Linked DNA regions of Homo sapiens: all the other regions are linked to region 1. The links are contacts of gene promoters, found by promoter capture Hi-C in blood cells and fetal thymus (Javierre and others, 2016). All regions are on one chromosome and are shown on one strand. Each heading gives the region's core, a stretch centred on a gene start or on the middle of the fragment in contact. The rest is flanking DNA. Distances are from core to core; before and after follow the strand shown.

Region 1 (2,700 bases), core at 120-2,619:
GAGACGAGGCGGGGTCGGGGTCGGGGTGGGGGTCCAAGGCCAGTACAAGACGCAAGGGTGTGGGGGACTAGGCTAGGAGCACAGGGGAGCGCTCAGTGAGCGATTTTCCAGCCGAGCCGCTACAAGCCCCATTGGGCACTCAGCAGCCGGCGTGTGGGCCAGCGGGGGGAGGGCGCACGGGGCGGGCATGTCTGGTTCGGTGTCTGGTTCCCGTTGTTGTGTCTGGCTAATTCCCTGGAAAGAAAGAGGCTAACTGCTCCGGGGACTAGGGACTTTGGTGAGACAAGGTGAGAGGGGGAAAAAGGCCCATATCTTTACGTTCTCCCTCGGACTTGGCCAGAGAAGAACCACAGTCACCTTGCACTCCAGACAGCCAGAAAGCAGCGAGTCGGAATGTTGCTTGCCTCCCTCTTATCCCAGCCGGTTTTTAGCCATCGCTAAGCCTAGGGCGAGGTTTCGGTCCGGTTTCAGCGTTTCTCCTCTACCTAGCCCCCTGAGGACCCCAGATTTCTCGCGGTACAGATCCAGAGAGGGTGGGGTAAGTAAGCATGGGGAACGTCACCGGGGAAACGAACTTGCGCGCAGCGCGCAGGAGGCGGCGGACAAAGATCTTGCGCGGCGCCCCTGCTCGACTCTCGGCGCTGGCGCGATGGCGCCCGAAGGCCCCGGGACAGAGAGATTGCGGGCTAATCTGGGTAGATCGAGGACCCCACAGAGAAGGGCCCACCGGCCATCGCCTCCACACCCTCCCTCCGACCTCACTCCTAGCCCCGCGCGCGCAGTCGCACAGCAACTCGGGCAGCGGGTCGACTACGGCCCCTGGAAAAGTAACAGGTTACCGTTCCTAGTAGCGCCTTCGGCTGCTGCTGCCCAGGCGCCCTTTGGAGGGACAGGCGCTCGCAGCATGGAAGCTCAAGGGAAAATCGCTCTTGCCCCACTTCAACTAGAGCCTCAGCCTCCGTGCTTCCCCGGGGCGTGAATCCGGAGGGCAGGGATAAGAAGAGTGACGAGGGAGGCGGGGGGGGGGGGGTCCCTGCGCAGCGCACCCGTGGAGAGCAGGGACTAGGGCGGGCAGGAAGCACTCATTTCGGGAGGTTGGGTGGCCGGCGCTGGGATGGGGTTGGTTGAGAAGCCGCGGGAGGAGAGGACCTGGCTGAAAAGCCACGGTTGGGCGCTGGGAAGTCCAGGTGGTCGCTAGCTTACCCACCTCGGCTCTGCGACAGCGAGCCGGGCACTCCCGCCTTTCCTCTGCACAGCGCCCAGCGATCCGCTCGGCTCGGCCCTGACAGGCGTAATCTGCCCGGCGTCACCTCCAGCTGCTTCCTCGTTCTCGCTAGTTCCCTCTCGCACGCGAGCGCCAGGAGAAGAGAGAGATTCGGAGAGGCGGCTGCACGGCTCCGGGGTAGGCGGGGGCAGAGTGGGGAGGCGGGGACCGGATCGGCGGGGAAATCACGAGGCCGTTGCTCGCGGGGGCAGCTAGTCGGCGGAGCGGCGGGGCTCCTCTGCAGGTGCCTGACCGCCTCTGGAGCTTTATAGGGCGATTATAAATCCAGCTCACGGTTTTGCGCCCGGAAGGAAAAAAAAAAGGTCTTATGAGTAATCCAGAACGTACTCAACACGCTTTTTTTTTTTCCTTTGGAAATAGGCAGGCTGTCGGGTGAGAGGAGGGAAAAGATAATTCCTACGAAGAATTCTGCCTTTCTGAGCGTTTCTTCTTCCCTCCCCTCCTTTCCCCTCTCCCATTTCCCCTCCCCCTCCCATATATTGTAGGAGACGAGCGGCGGTTTTGCCTCAGTGCTTTTCCCCGGGGTTCCCCCAGATCTGTGACCCTGCGACGCTTCCTTGAGCGAAAGCGCGCTTTGGGTCGTGTCCTCGTTGGCTCTCTACGGAGCTGGGATTGTTGTAACCGCAAAGGAGGCAGAAATGAGGGGAGACCTCTTAGACCATGGAGGAATTACAGTTTCCTCATCCAGCCCTGGGCCCCATCAAAGTACCACACCTGGCCACAGCTACCCAGTGCCACCGGCAGAGAAAAGGACCCCGCGTCCCTTTTGCTATGCGCTCGCTCCTCGCTTTGGCCCCCTTGGTGATGGGAAAAGAAGGCCTCCTGATTAATCACGTTTGAAGGTTGATGACACGCACGAGCGCCGCTGCACGCGCATGGGGCACCCGAGCACAGAGGTGCCCGGAAGGGGCGGACCAGCCCCCCTTGCCCTGGCCCGCTCCCCCTTCGATTTCACGCGCTTTAAGGATTCTCCCTTTGCAATATTTAGGCGTAGTTAAAAGAACCGCTGCGTTGGGAGAAGCCCCTCGCCGTAAAAATGCGTTGAAAGAGAAATTCCCACCAGAGGGCGCCAAGAGCCCAGAGACGGAGAGGCCCTGCGCTCCCGGGTCTCTCCGCCAGCGCCCGAGCGGAGCCCACACCTGGAGCTGCTGGCCAGACGGTTACGCGCCGGCTTGCCTCTTCATGCCTTCCCTCACCGCCCTGTCACTAGTTTAAGTTCTCCCCTTTCTTCTCCCCCAGTTTTTTTCTTTAGGGCAAAAATGTTGATGTCTGTGCGTGTCTGGGTGACACCGTGTAGGCAGTGATTCCTTTACTGGTATTTACCGTGGTCCTCCCCCTCTCCCCAGGTGGTGCAGCACGCAGGGGTTATTTATGCGCACGTCTGGGGCCTCACTGGTTCAGCGGAGGCCCGTCCG
Region 2 (2,700 bases), core at 75-2,574, 880 kb after region 1:
ACGCTTTTATAAAACCTGGACTAGATCTTAAAGGCCTTTTCCAGCAATAAGAGCCTAAAATTCTAAGCATCTAAGCATCACATAAAGCAAACGGCTTACTTTCACTTAAACTCTCAGCACAAAAACTGAAAGAAATCTACTTTTCATTCGTTTAACAAATATTTACTGATTGCCTTTAAAGTGCCTGGCACAGAGCTAAATTGTGAGAACACAAAAGTTTAAATTTATCTGACCATTTTTCATTTTAGTTTGCAAGATGACCTCCAAAAGGCCTGCTTACAAATAAGAAAAGATCCCTCCCAGTATAATCAGTTAAGCCACTTTTTGTCCCTTAAAATTAAAAAGCAGATGAAAATGATCAATAGCAAACAAATCGGCCAGGCACGGTGGCTCATGTGTGTAATCCCAACACTTTGGGAGGCCGAGGCAGAGCATTCAATAAATATGTACTGTTAAATAAAATTTCCCATTTAAAATTGATTACATTATTTAATGATTCCTTCAAAGCTTTGAAAGTTTCAGCCCAATCTCAGTACAAATTTCTAGTAACTACAAAGTAAAAGAGAATAAAATTTACTTAATTCTTATACATTCAAAACAACTAACCATCATCACTACCCTGAAAAAAAGGCAGAGCCATTTAAGACTGGTGTTTATGAAGTCTCAATAAGGTTTTCCATGCAAATGCTTCTTCCCAATTTTCTTCATTTTTCAATTTTTCAACAGGAATTACTCAAATTTATTTATTCAACAAATATATTATGAATACCTACTAAGTGCCAGAATTGAGATAAGTATTAAAGATGTAGACGAGATACAGAGATAAAAATATATTCCCTCAAGGAGCTAAGAGTTAAGTAAAAGACTACAAGCAAGTACATTTTTACAAAACTATATGAAAAGCAGAAAAAGAGGGAGTTAAGAAACCAGAGAAAGAGAACCTCAGTCTAATTTCTCCAAGGGTTTAGAGAAACGGAGAGAGAGATGCCGATGGCTGAACTGGGTTGTTGTTGTTGTTGTTGTTGTTGTTATTGATTTAAAGATCGTTTTGGTTTTGTTTGGGGGAGGAAGTGAATTAAAATTCCACATTAAAAATTTTCTTCAGATATTTGTCTGTGATAGATATTTCTATTACTGCAAAGTCTTGGCAAAAGAGAAGTTTCACTTTGATAGTTATCTGGATAAGTACTAATACTTTCTCAAAATCAAGGACATTTGCATCATTTAAACTTGCTTTTTAAATGTTTAACTTTAGCTGTAGGAAAGCACAAGTAAAAGATGATATCTTGTGATATTTGGCAATATAATATTAACTATTAAGGTTTAAAAAGAGGTGAAATAATACATTTACAATGGTCTACAATTTACAATAACATACAAAATTGAATTCTGCATTTAAAAGATATCTTTCAAAATTTTTGTCTTCTGCAGTCATCAATACCGTAAACTATTTTGTTAAATATTTACAAGTAAAATTAATTTTGCTTTGGCTATTTTCCCAGTTGTCATGAACACAGAAATATGTTCACTTATTACAGACACCCGTCACCATCTCTGATGTCAGAGAATTCTATTCTCTTAACTTGTGCCTCCCCTACTGGTTCAAAAGTAGAACAACACAAAACCAAGCCTTTAATTCCACTGATGGAACAGCAACTAAATAAGTTTCTGTTTTTTAATTTAGTGATCATGTTCTAAATTTATCAGATTAACATCAAATTTTGGATAAAGATCTTAACATAAATCTCCACCAGATTATTTTTTAAACCTTAAATTATTATTTTCACCTTTAAAGAATGAAAGTATACTTTAATGAGAGCATATCATATCTGTGTTATCACTGAAATTTTTCCATATAAATATAAAATACTGTTATGATGCTAATCAATTTGATGGACTTACAATGCAGTATATCTGTCCATTGCAGACTGCACATCTCTACGGTAAACTGTTCGAAGAATGACCATGACGGGGTCAAACTCTTGATCCCAGACTTCAGCTATTATTCAAAAGAAAGTAGAAACATTGACTTCTCAGAAATAAAATCAATATTTATTGACTTATTACATTTGTTAAGTATATTTTACATTTAAAACACAGAACAATTTAATCTGATTATAGTATTTGCCTTAAGAAGCTTGATGCCATGATTACTTTTCTAAGTCAAAAATCACAATTTCATCATCAGGAATGTTCTCTTGAGTTCAGCAAGCACTAAAGAACAAAAGTTTTGTAATACAACAATGCCTCACCAGAAAAGTTTACTTCATTGTTGTTGTTGTTGTTTGTAAGGTGCCAATTAGAAAGAAACACAGCAGGTTAGGATCTCTGAGAGTATTTAAAGTTAAGCAGGGCATGATGCCTTACACCTCTAGTCCCAACTACTTGGGAGGCTTAGGCAGGAGGCTCACCTGAACCCAGGAGTTTGAGACCAGCCCAGGCAACAAAGACAGACCTCATTTCCCAAAAAAAGTATTAAACAAAAAAAGTACTTAAAAGTAAAAACATGAAAACTAGATTTAAAGATTAATGAGGCTGGACACGGTGGCTCATGCCTGTAATCCCAGCACTTTGGGCAGCTGAGGTGGGCAGATCACTTGAGGTCAGTAGTTTGAGACAAGCCTGGCCATCATGGTGAAACCCCGTCTCTACTAAAAATACAAAAATTAACCAGGCGTGGTGGCGCACACCTGTAATCCC
Region 3 (2,700 bases), core at 10-2,509, 590 kb after region 1:
TTTCCCTGCCTTGGTTTCTTCATCTGCAAAATGGGACTTGCATTCCCATGCTCTCTGAAAAGCCAAACAGCTTCAATATTTACTAGGTATGTGAATTTGGGCTCGATTCCTCCTATAGCTCTTTAAGCCTCACTTTCCTCAGTGATCAAATGGAGAAAATAACATCCACTATTGAGAGCTGTTGTGAAAATGAAATAAAATATTTTAAAAGCCCCTATCATAGTCCCTGGTATAGAGTCAGTCCTCAGTAAGTGAAAGTTTCCTTCCCACTATGCCTCTGCTTAGCAAGTGCAATGTTCAAAATATCTGACAATCAGGTGGCATGTGGCACTGGCCATCCCTGCTTGTCAAACAGACCTTTCCCCCCATAGTTACTGGATCATCAGGTCAGAAATGTCCCAGGGTAAAAGACAGGGCACCTCTGGTGGCTGAGGAGCACTCAAGGGGCTCTGGATGGCAGCCATTTACCATCCAGAATGAATAGTTTAATATCTTAACAACCAGCCTGGCCACACAGTGTACATCAGCTAAATATAAGCCATTATTTTCAAAGTCTACTGGTGTCCTCAATAAAAACGATAATGACAACATTGGTTCTTTCTCTTGGGTTTCAGTCACTTACAAACACTGAGTTTAATTCTTTGCTATATGTGATGGTAGAAAAAGTTTTTTAGGTATCAACTACCCCTAACCCCCTGCCATTACCATTAATCAACATAAACTAGGCTTGTATCCCTTTTGCTATAGGCCAGGATATTACCTGGCATGTGTTTGATATAAAAATTGGTTGAGCAATATTAACAGCGGACACGGGTTACATTGGAAATCCCTTAGTTGAATAAGTCACAAAATATGGATTCCAGTCACCATTACCCACCTACCCACTCTGTGTCTATGGACACTTGGCCTGACAAAGCCTTAGATTCTTTATCTACAACATCAATGTAATCATGCCCGAGTGGCACTCTCACAGGTAGATGACAGTGTTTTTAAAATACTATTTGTAAAAATTCTACGCAAATGTGGGATACTATTATTCATATTACTTACTATAAGAAATTGGCTGTCAGGAGATAGTGGAGGAGAAAAGAGATAATAAACATGGCTAATAGGAAGACTGTGTTGTTTTTGTGAGTTTTTTTAAGTGCATAAAATGCAGGCTAAAGTTTTAGGTCAGGAGACCAGAGAGGCTTAATCAGGTAAAGAGAAGGTTCAAGGAAGTGACTATGAGCTGGCCAAACATCTCAGGAGATAATAATAATTTTAAAAATGCTTTGCCTGAGAGTAGGTAGGAGAGAACAAAAGTCTGGGGGTGTTGGGCGCCCACACAGGAAGGCAATTTGGTATGCTTTGTACCTTCAGAAAGAACCACGTTTGCCTCAAACACCAAAGGCTGAGAGAGTGCAGACAGTCTATGTGTGTGGTGTGTGTGGAGTAGGGGAGGTGGTTGTGTATGTGTGTGTAAACAGGCAAAGCTGAGCCTCTCACTATGCTAGCATCTATAACCTGCAGCCCTGCAGGTTCTAAATAGTTGACTAATTACCTTGGAAACTTGAATGATTTAATACAAAGGAAGGGTGCTAAATATTAGTATTTGGGAGCTTGTTATTGGTTGAACTGTGTCCTCCAAAAAAAAGATACATTTAAGTCCTAGCCCCCAGAATCTCAGAACGTGAACTTATTTGGAAATAGGGTCACTGTATATACAATTAGTTGAATTCAGATGAGGTCATACTGGAGTAGGGTGGGCCTCTAATCCGACGGGACTGGTGTTCTTATAAGAAGTCATGGACATGTGAAGACACACAGAGAAAATACCACGGCACTACAAAGGCAGAGACTGGAGTTACGCAGCTTGCAAGCCAGGGAACACCAAAGATCACCAGCAAACCTCCAGTAGCTGGGAAGAGACAAAGCAAGATCCCTCCCCTAGAGGCTTCAGAGGAAGCCTGCTGGCATCTTGGTTTCAGATTTCTAGCCTCCAGAAGTGTGAGATAATATATTTCTGTTGTTTAAAGCTACCCAGTTTGTACTACTTGATTACAGCAGACCGGGAAAATAAATATAGGGTGGAAAAGTCTTCAACCCCAAGAGAGGAGGAAAACCCACTTTAACTTCTCGCTGTTTGGTTGCACCATGAGTGCCTTCACCTGTGGCTATTGGCATGTTGGAGCCACTACTGCCCCTCAGATATTCACAGGCACTGTTGTCATAACTGCCCTAAAGTCAGTCCCAGAACAATGAAGCCATGCAGCTTGCAGCAGTCATAGCCAGGGAGATTTAAAAATCGGAAGTTTTCATGACTCTATTATTATGAGCTGCTAAATCAACAAACTCCGGAACAAACTACCTCTGATCTTATTATACGAGAAACTTAATTATCTATTGTTCAAGTTATTTTGCTCATGATAATCTCCTAAATAGTCTCCATGTGAAATTTTTCTTTCTCTCTTAAGATAATCTTTCCTGTAGTCACAGTATGCTACTCACATACAGTGTGTTTAGTTTATAAAAAATTGTTCTGATCTTAAGCCAGGCATGTTGGGGCATGCCCTGTAGTCCCAGCTACTCGGGAGGCTGAAGCAGAAGGAATGCTTGAGCTTAGGAGTTGGAGACCAGCCTGGGCAACATGGTAAGACCCCATCTTTTAAAAAAAAATTCTACTGATCTTGACTTTTAGATTAACCCTTTTATTATGCC
Region 4 (2,700 bases), core at 26-2,525, 560 kb after region 1:
CAACCCTTCTTCTCCTCTCCCAACTCCAGTAGTCCCCAGTGTCTACTGTTCCAATCTTTATGTCTGTGTGTACCCAATGTTTAGCTGCCACTTTTAAGTGATAACATATGGCATTTAGTTTTCTGTTTCTGCACTAATTCACTTAGGATAATAGCATCCAGCTGCATCCATGCTGCTGCAAAGAACATGATTTTATCCCTTTTTATGGCTGCATAGTATTCCATGATATATATGTACCACATTTTCTTTATCCAATCCACCACTGATGGGCACCTATGTCTTTGCTATTGTGAATGGTGCTGCAATTAACATACATGCACATGTGTCTTTTTGGTAGAATGATTTCTTTTCCTTTGGGCATATACCCAGTAATGGGATTGCTGGGTTGAATGGTCGTTCTTCTTTTAGTTCTTTGAGAAATCTCAAAACTGCTTTCCACTGCTTAACTAATTTACATTCCCATCAATAGTGTATGAGCATTCCCTTTTCTCTGCAGCCTCACCAACATGTTATTTTTTGACTTTTTAATAATAGCCATTCTGACTAATGTGAGATATTTCATTGTTGTTTTGATTTGCATTTGTCTGATGATTAGTGGTGTTGAGCTTTTTTTTTTTCATGTTTGTTGGCTGCTTGTGTGTCTTCTTCTGAGATGTATCTATCTCTTCATGTCCTTTGCCCACTTTTTAAGGGGGTTATATGTTTTTTGCTTGTTAGATTATTTAAGTTCCTTACACATTCTGGATATTTGACCTTTGTGGATGCATAGTTGGTGAATATATTCTCCCATTCTGTAAGTTATCCATTTATTGATATTTTATTTTGCTATGCAAAAGCTTAATGTGTCCCACTTATCAATTTGTGTTTAATTATGTCCCACTTGTCTATTTGTGTTTTCATTGCAACTACTTTTGAGGACTTTGTCATAAATTCTTTGCCAAGGCCAATGTCCATAATAGCATTTCCTAGGCTTCCAGTTGGATTTTTATAGTTTTAGGTCCTAAGTTTTTAATCCATCCTGAGTTAATTTTTGTATATGGTAATAGGTAGGAGTCTAGCTTCATTCTTCTGCAAAAGGATAGCCAGTTATCCAAGCACGATTTATTGAAAAGGGAGTCCTTTCCCCATTGCTTATTTGTGTTGACTTTGTTGAAGATTAGATGGTTATAGTGGCTTTATTTCTGGGTAATCTATTCTGTTCCATTGGTGTATGTGACTGTTTTTATACCAGTACCATGCTTTTTGGCTACTGTAACCTTGCAGTATAGTTTGAAGTTGAGTGACGTGATGCCTCTGGCTGTGTTCTTTTTGCTTAGGATTGCTTCAGCTATTTGGGCTCTTTTTTTGTTCCATATAAATGTTAGAATAGTTTTTTATAATTCTATGAAAAATGACATCGGTAGTTTCATAGGAATAGTGTTGAATCTATAGATTGCTAAGGGACAGAATGGCCTTTTTAACAACACTGATTTTTCCAGTCCATGAGCATGGAATGTTTTTCCATTTGTTTGTGTCATCTATGATTTCTTTCAGCAGTGTTTCATTTTTAGTTATCCTCGTAGAGATCTTTCACCTCCTTGGTTAGATGAATTCCTAGGTTGTGTGTGTGTATTGTAAATTGGACAGTGTTCTTGATTTGGCTCTCAGTTTGAACAAGACTGGTGTATAGAAATACTACTGATTTTTGTACGATAATTTTGTATCCTGAAGCTTTACTGAAGTCGTTTATCAGTTCTAGGAGCCTTTTAGGTGGAGTCTTTAAGGTTTAAGGTTTTCTAGGTATCAAATCATATCATCAGTGAAGAGAGATAATTTGTCTTTTGCTTTTCCTATATGGATGCCTTTTATTTCGTTTTCTCCTCTGACTGCTCTGGCTAGAACTTCCAATACTATGACATATAGAAGTAGTGAACGTGGGCATCATTGTCTTGTTCCAGTTCTTAAGGGAAATGCTTCCAGCTTTTTCCCATTCAGTATCATGTTGGCTGTGGGTTTGTCATAGATGACTCATTATTTTCAGGATGTTCCTTTGATGCCTAGTTTTTTGAGGATTTTTGTCTTAACTGAATATCGGATTTTATCAGAAGCTTTTTCTATATCTATTGAGATGATCATATGATTTTTTCTTTTAATTCTGTTTATGTGGTGAATCACATTTATTGATTTGCATATGTTGAACCCACCTTGCATCTCAGGAAGAAAGCCTACCTGATTGTAATGAATTAACTTTCTGATGTTCTGCCAGATTCAGTTTGCCAGTATTTTGTTGAGGATTTTTGTATCTATATTCATCAGGGATACTGGCCTGACGTTTTCTTTTTTCACTGTCTCATTGGTATCAGAATGATGCTGGCTTCATAGAATAAGTTAGGGAGGAGTCTGTCCTCCTTGACTTTTGTGGATAATTTCAGTAGGATTGGTACCAGCTCTTTGTCTGTCTGGTAGAATTCAGCTGGGAATCCATCTAGTCCATAGCTTTTTAGGTTGCCAGGTTTTTAAAATTTTTAAATAGTGATTCAATTTCAGAACTTGTTATTGATCTGTTTAGGGTTTCAATTAATTTCTGATTCAATTTTGGGAGGTTGTACATTTCCAGGAATTTATCCATTTCCTCTAGATTTTCTAGTTTGTGTTCATGAAGGTGTTCATAAGTTTCTGAAGACCTTTGGTATTTCTGTGGGATTGGTTGTAATGTTACCT
Region 5 (2,700 bases), core at 1-2,500, 620 kb before region 1:
AGTTAAGATCAACAGTGAGGTGAATTACAGCAAAATTATCAATAAAAAGTTACCTGCTGACACAGCGCCGATAATTGTCAAAATATATTCTTCCTCTCTCATAGGCTATAGGTGACCTGGAATGAGTTGTCCAGACATTCTTAAATTTAGTACTTTCCTAAAAGACATAAAGAATTTCCGTTCAGGAAAGAACTCTTAGGCTTTAAGTTAGATTTTAAATTTTCAAAGCAACATAATGTCACCTATATTATTTTAAAACTTTTTGCATCCTTCCTCCACTCTGCCCTCATGTTTTGGCTTAATGAGGTGACCAACTTTTAGAATAATTGTTTCCAGGTAAGACATAAGAAGCGTAAAACTAAAAGCAGCTGGTGGCCCTATTACCACCTATCCCAGATTCCGGGCTTGTATCCTCCTCCCCATCACATGTGACCCTATAAAGGGAGGCCCCAGCGCGTTAAAACCGCATCCCCGCAGGAGGCTCGGCCGCCGCGCGCCCGCGGCCCTCCGTCCCGCCCCGGCCGGCTGGCGGTCACCTGGCACACCAGCGCCCGCAGGATGCCCAGGTTGGTCCTCTGCACCACGCCTGCGTCGCGCGAGAAGCAGCCCAGCGCCCGGCGACTCAGCCGGCTGCACACGTTGGGCTTCCGGGTCGGGCCCATGGAGGCGCGGGCCGGGCCCTGGGTAGGCTGGGCCGCCGAGTGGCGCGCCCCACACTCCCGTGCTGGGCAGCCGCCGCTGCCTTCGAATTTCGAGGCCCAGACTTTCCCGGCGGGGCCCAGGGAAAGCTGACACGGGGAGGCGGGCAGGGAGCACCCGACGGCGGGGCGAGGGAAAGCAGAGCCGCTTGCACCGCCAGAGCGCGGAGAGAAGGGAAGAAGCACTCCCTTTTCGATCTGCCCCAGGCTCTCTGGCCGCTGACAGTGCGACGCTCCGGTACCGCGCGGCCGGCCGGAGCCGCTCTCTCACCGGGAAATGTAGTTCCTAGTGCCTCGTGAGGCAGCCCGGCTTCTCCCAGGAACTACAATTCCCGTCAGGCGGCGGGGAGCGAGGGCTTGCCCGGCCCTGCCTCTGCCTGCCGCGGCCCCGCCTCCTCCGGCCCGCGGAGGCTGCGCTGTCTTGCGGGCGCGCTTCTCTGTGCTGCGAGTGGCTAGCTGGGCAGAGCCCTGGGGGCGCGGTGCTGCCGCCTCCAGGTCTCCGCCCCGTGTGTGCGCCCTGCACTTAGGGATCCCTCCCTCACTGCCCCGGTACTCACAAGCTTCTCGGCCCCGACCTTCGCCCTGGGAGGTTCTGGCCAGGTGCCGGGAGGGGCGCTGTGTCGAGGGCGATCCCCCCAAAGCAGCGTCCCGTGCTAAAGGTACGCCCCGCGGCTTTCCCTTCAGCCGCATGTTGGCTGAGGGGGACGGTAAACTGTGCTTTTGTATTAGGAAGATGCTGGCTTCCCATTCACTCTTAGTTTCACCCTCCAAACTGGGATTGAGTTACTCTTTCCCGGAGGCTTGTCCTTGGGTGGCCTGCGGGGACACTGACTGGTTTTGCGATAATTGCTTCATTTCATTTCCTCTCGCCTCCATTCTTTTTTCTTTATAGGGAATAAAATATGAAATGCTTACATTCTTATTGGACGGCCTAAGATATTCCTCGTCGATGTCTCTAAGTAAAAGATATACTTTGTTAACTAGCCCTGCCTGTATGTTCAAAGTTCCCAGCACACTAAACTTTCAGCAAGCTTGCACCACATGTGTCCCACCGCCATGCTCTAAGTCCCTTAAGGGTGGGGCCGCTGTATCTCCCACGTGGACTTGGGCATGCTACCTCTTGTTCATAGGTGCTCAAAGAAAGCCAGCGATCGCACCTGACTGGCAGAGCAAAAAGTACAGTACAGCAGGTCCTTGAATCGCATTTTTTCGTTCAGTGTCATTTTGTATAACTTGATGAGAAAAAATAATAATTTCCTACCGGGGCTACTGTTTGTGTGGATCTTGCCCCTTCTCCCCACGTCTGCATGGGTTTTCACCAGGTACCCCAGGGTACTGCCTCCCACATCTCAGTGCAGGCTGGATGAATTGGCCTTGTCTGTGTTTCCTGTCTGAGTGTGAGTGTGAGTGCTCCCTGCGATGGAATGTCGTCGTGTCCAAGGGTTGGTTCCCACCTTGCACCCTGAGCTGAGGGGATAGGCTTCAGCCACCCTCGACCCTGAACTGGAATAATTAGGTAAATAACTATCTTACTTGTTTTTATTAATCTTCCTTAAATGTATGTATAGCTCCCATTTATTTCAATGTTTAATATTAGAAGTGTTTTGGTTTGTATTTAGGAGTTTGGTGATGTTTTTGTGACCAGAAATATGTTATAGGAACTTAACTTTTGTTTATATCAATTGGCCTATGGTAAAAATGGTTTTGTTATATGTCATTTTGCTTACAGTCAGTTTCCAAAAATCTGTTGATGACATTAAGTGAGTACTTACAGTACTGGGTGAGTGTGTTGGGTCACAGTTTAAGTGTTTAGTAAACATTGGCCATATCTCTTTTTAACCCTGCTGAATTTCCTTCAGGGCTCGAGCTTTTGCTGATTTTTCATGACTTATTTACAGCATACGGTAGAGTGCTTTGTATATTTTTAGAGAGTGCTACAATAGTTAATTTGGTAATTCATGAATGCAGCTGTCACTGAGAAAACTGGAACCCAGAAAAGATA
Region 6 (2,700 bases), core at 27-2,526, 570 kb after region 1:
TTCTAGAACCCTGGAGAAGGTTGAACCTACTAAGGGGGCTAAAAGGACCCTATAGAAGGAGGCAGCCAAGACCAGTCATACGACTCATCAACCGAGCACAAAACCACCACAAAAACTGATAGAACTGATAGCAAAGGAAAAGTACCATGGCCCTAGTTCTCTTCAGAGGATGACAGCATCACCACTCGTTGTAGACATCATGGCAGTGGAGACTAAGGCCAGCCCTGCTTCCTCATGTGCAGTTCCTGTCACAGCATTCATGTATGTGTGTGAGGGTGAGGTGTATGTGACCGTATCTCTTAAGAGTGTGTCTATTTACAAAGGAGTTGTGACAATGGATACTAATGGCAGAGTCCTTCACATAGATGCAATGTAAGTAGTAGGGACTTCAGAAATCAGCCTTCATTCTCTCTTAATTCCTCATACAATCATCAATCAATCAATTAGCTGAACTTTCAAATGACTGATCTCATGGGTGGCTCTTTTTGAATAGAAGCTTTCAATTCTTCAGCTACAAGGGAAAGAAAATTCCTTACAGTATAAATATGCCCTTGAGATATTTTCCTTGGTAGCATCCAGCATGAATTGAATGCTTACTATGAAATATTCTGACCAATTTACATTCTTTAACTCCCACAATAGCTCTATGAGGTCGACATTACTCAAATCCTCATTTTATAAGGGAGGACACTGACACACACAGACATGCAGTAACTTGGTCAAGTTCACACTGGTGAACTTGAAAGTGATGGAGCTGCTAGTTGAACCCGTGTAGATTGACTGTAGAACACTGTAATAACTTGAGAGCAAAACTGGTCCAATTTTCTGTTCCTTCCTCTATCTGTGCTTAGAACCCTGTCACCAATATGAGAACTACCTCAGGCTAGCCTGCTGGAAGATAAGAAACAACATGGACCAGAGCCAAGTCATCCTAGCCAAGGCTATCCTAGACCAACCAACACAGCCACATTCTCAGCTGATCACAGATGCATGAGCAAGCCCAGCCAAGATCTGCAGAACCACCCAGAGAAACCCATAGACTCATGAAAAATCATAAATGTTTGTTGTTTAAGCAACTAAGTTTGGGGATGGTTTGTTACATACTAGTAGTTAACTGATACAAACAACCATGCTGGACCACTATACTATATTTTCCTTCAAATGATACTGGCTTCACTTGACTCTAGGATCCTCCAGGAATGGATAGCTCCAGCTGTGAAGAACCTTCCTTTAGACTATCACCTCATTGCTCCTCATCCCTGTCTTACCCCTGCCCCTACCATTATGCCAACCCATAAAGGCAGTTATAATTATTCCTCACCTTTATTCCTTAGTTTTTTCTGGAGTAGAGAGGAAACCAGGGTGCCTCAACTCTAGCACAATTTTGAGCTCTGTTTCCTTGCCTACTTCTTTGCCCATCTCTCCATCATTTAGGAGGTGGGTTGGAATTAGCCACAGTCAGTTGTGCCAAAATAATATACCAGGGTAATGAGAAGAAGGCACAGATAGCGCTGGGAATCAACCCCTCGCACCTTTGGCCTGTCTCTCAGGGTGAGCTTCTTACTCAGTAGTGGTGGGGACCCAAAGTCCCTGAAGGCATGCTCCTGCTTTGTCACCTGATCCCCAAATGAAACCTTGCAAAGCTAAATTCTCCCTGCCTGCCAGGACTCAGGCAGGGGGCAGCAAGCAGTACCTACATAGGACTGAATGGCCCCAGCTGCTCAACTCGAATTTAAAAATAATTTGGCAATGTGTTCCACAGAGTGAAAGCCTTCTGGGGCATTTCTGCCAGATGCCTCCAGCTACTGGGTTCCCACGGAAAGGGAGTGTCAAGTCCTGGGCCCAGAAGATATTCTGGGGATCTGGAACAGGGTACATACTGAAGGCAATCCATTAAAAATGGGATTAGAAATCTCTCAAAGAAAGAAAAAGATACATAAAACATAACTGTTTTTCTATTGGAATATTTTAAAACTTTTTTTTTGCTATTAGGCACTCAATAAATGCTAAATGATGCTAATTCTTCTAGCACTTCTTGCTTTATGAGTGAAGCTTGGATCGTGGGGATTCATTGCTCAAAAGGCCAATAGCTAAGTGACCTGGGTTGGTGAAGAGAAACCAATACTCCCCAGGGCAAATCCAGCCTCACTGTGCCATTAAACACTCAGCACCCCTCACTCATTACACTTCAACAATAGTTTAGTTTTAATTTCTTTCCTTTATATTTCACAGCCCTAAAGGAAAATGTCCTGTGACAATTCTGTAATAGTGAGACAATTACTGGTGACTCAGGGCTCCCTGCTGCCTCTGCATCTCACAGCGGAGGAGCAGGCAGAGACTACTGCTTCCCATATAGGAACAATTTGGTTTGTGAATTAGGAAAGTCAGCATCAAAAGGAATCTTAAAAAAAAAAATGCCTATGTAAGATAAAAATTTAGCCCAAGGATCCTATTTCAGGATGAGAGTCGATTGTAGGCACTGAGTCCCTGAGGAAGCTCTTCAAATAGACACACAAATATTTCAAGCAGTGACTTGCCCATCTGCCCCACTACCCACAGCATCCAGGCAGTCCACAAGGATCCAGACCCTGGGTTCCCAAAAATCTGATTTCTCCTTTTTGTTATCCAAACTCTCTCCGTTTCACCTTTACCGATAAATGAGGAGGAGGCAGTAAACTGATGTGCTCCTTGACAGCAAAA

What was found. The method cuts DNA at HindIII sites, captures the fragments that hold promoters and counts their contacts. A CHiCAGO score of 5 or more calls a contact.
Region 2: a contact is called between a fragment that was not itself captured here and the fragment with the promoter of GAD1 in region 1, in 1 of 17 cell types (megakaryocytes). The highest score is 10.3, in megakaryocytes.
Region 3: a fragment that was not itself captured here is called in contact with the fragment with the promoter of GAD1 in region 1 in 1 of 17 cell types (megakaryocytes); the score reaches 5.3 in megakaryocytes.
Region 4: a contact is called between a fragment that was not itself captured here and the fragment with the promoter of GAD1 in region 1, in 2 of 17 cell types (megakaryocytes and endothelial precursors). The highest score is 5.7, in megakaryocytes.
Region 5: the fragment with the promoter of METTL8 here is called in contact with the fragment with the promoter of GAD1 in region 1 in 3 of 17 cell types (naive CD8 T cells, activated CD4 T cells and fetal thymus); the score reaches 8.3 in naive CD8 T cells.
Region 6: a fragment that was not itself captured here is called in contact with the fragment with the promoter of GAD1 in region 1 in 6 of 17 cell types (megakaryocytes, erythroblasts, fetal thymus and 3 more); the score reaches 10.9 in megakaryocytes.

Annotation. Positions count from the first base shown.
Region 1 is chr2:170,815,556-170,818,255 of GRCh38, reverse strand. GAD1 (glutamate decarboxylase 1) reads right to left here and starts at 1,369. Exons shown (of 17, transcript NM_000817.3): 1 at 1,208-1,369. GAD1-AS1 (GAD1 antisense RNA 1) reads left to right here. Exons shown (of 4, transcript NR_197761.1): 2 at 341-538; 3 at 1,224-1,402; 4 at 1,771-2,700. RefSeq lists an enhancer at 1,218-1,387 and a silencer at 1,475-1,554. The HindIII fragment of the contact is 11,655 bases long and covers 1-2,700 here.
Region 2 is chr2:169,932,211-169,934,910 of GRCh38, reverse strand. It overlaps UBR3 (ubiquitin protein ligase E3 component n-recognin 3), which reads right to left. Exons shown (of 39, transcript NM_172070.4): 19 at 1,903-1,999. Among named protein-coding and RNA genes, the nearest start is that of UBR3, 110 kb to the right of the region's middle. The HindIII fragment of the contact is 1,630 bases long and covers 510-2,139 here.
Region 3 is chr2:170,221,698-170,224,397 of GRCh38, reverse strand. The region is part of intron 6 of MYO3B (myosin IIIB); the gene reads right to left. Among named protein-coding and RNA genes, the nearest start is that of MYO3B, 45 kb to the right of the region's middle. RefSeq lists enhancers at 2,110-2,610, 2,206-2,700. The HindIII fragment of the contact is 3,525 bases long and covers 1-2,700 here.
Region 4 is chr2:170,257,879-170,260,578 of GRCh38, reverse strand. All of the region lies in intron 7 of MYO3B (myosin IIIB), which reads right to left. Among named protein-coding and RNA genes, the nearest start is that of MYO3B, 81 kb to the right of the region's middle. The HindIII fragment of the contact is 874 bases long and covers 839-1,712 here.
Region 5 is chr2:171,432,540-171,435,239 of GRCh38, reverse strand. It overlaps METTL8 (methyltransferase 8, tRNA N3-cytidine), which reads left to right and starts at 1,250. Exons shown (of 10, transcript NM_001321154.2): 1 at 1,250-1,357. DCAF17 (DDB1 and CUL4 associated factor 17) reads right to left here and starts at 1,014. Exons shown (of 14, transcript NM_025000.4): 1 at 537-1,014; 2 at 54-157. The coding sequence starts at 662. RefSeq lists enhancers at 188-747, 1,567-1,636, 1,309-1,869, 1,847-2,016 and a silencer at 347-1,256. The HindIII fragment of the contact is 4,328 bases long and covers 1-1,260 here.
Region 6 is chr2:170,241,540-170,244,239 of GRCh38, reverse strand. The region is part of intron 7 of MYO3B (myosin IIIB); the gene reads right to left. Among named protein-coding and RNA genes, the nearest start is that of MYO3B, 65 kb to the right of the region's middle. The HindIII fragment of the contact is 1,556 bases long and covers 499-2,054 here.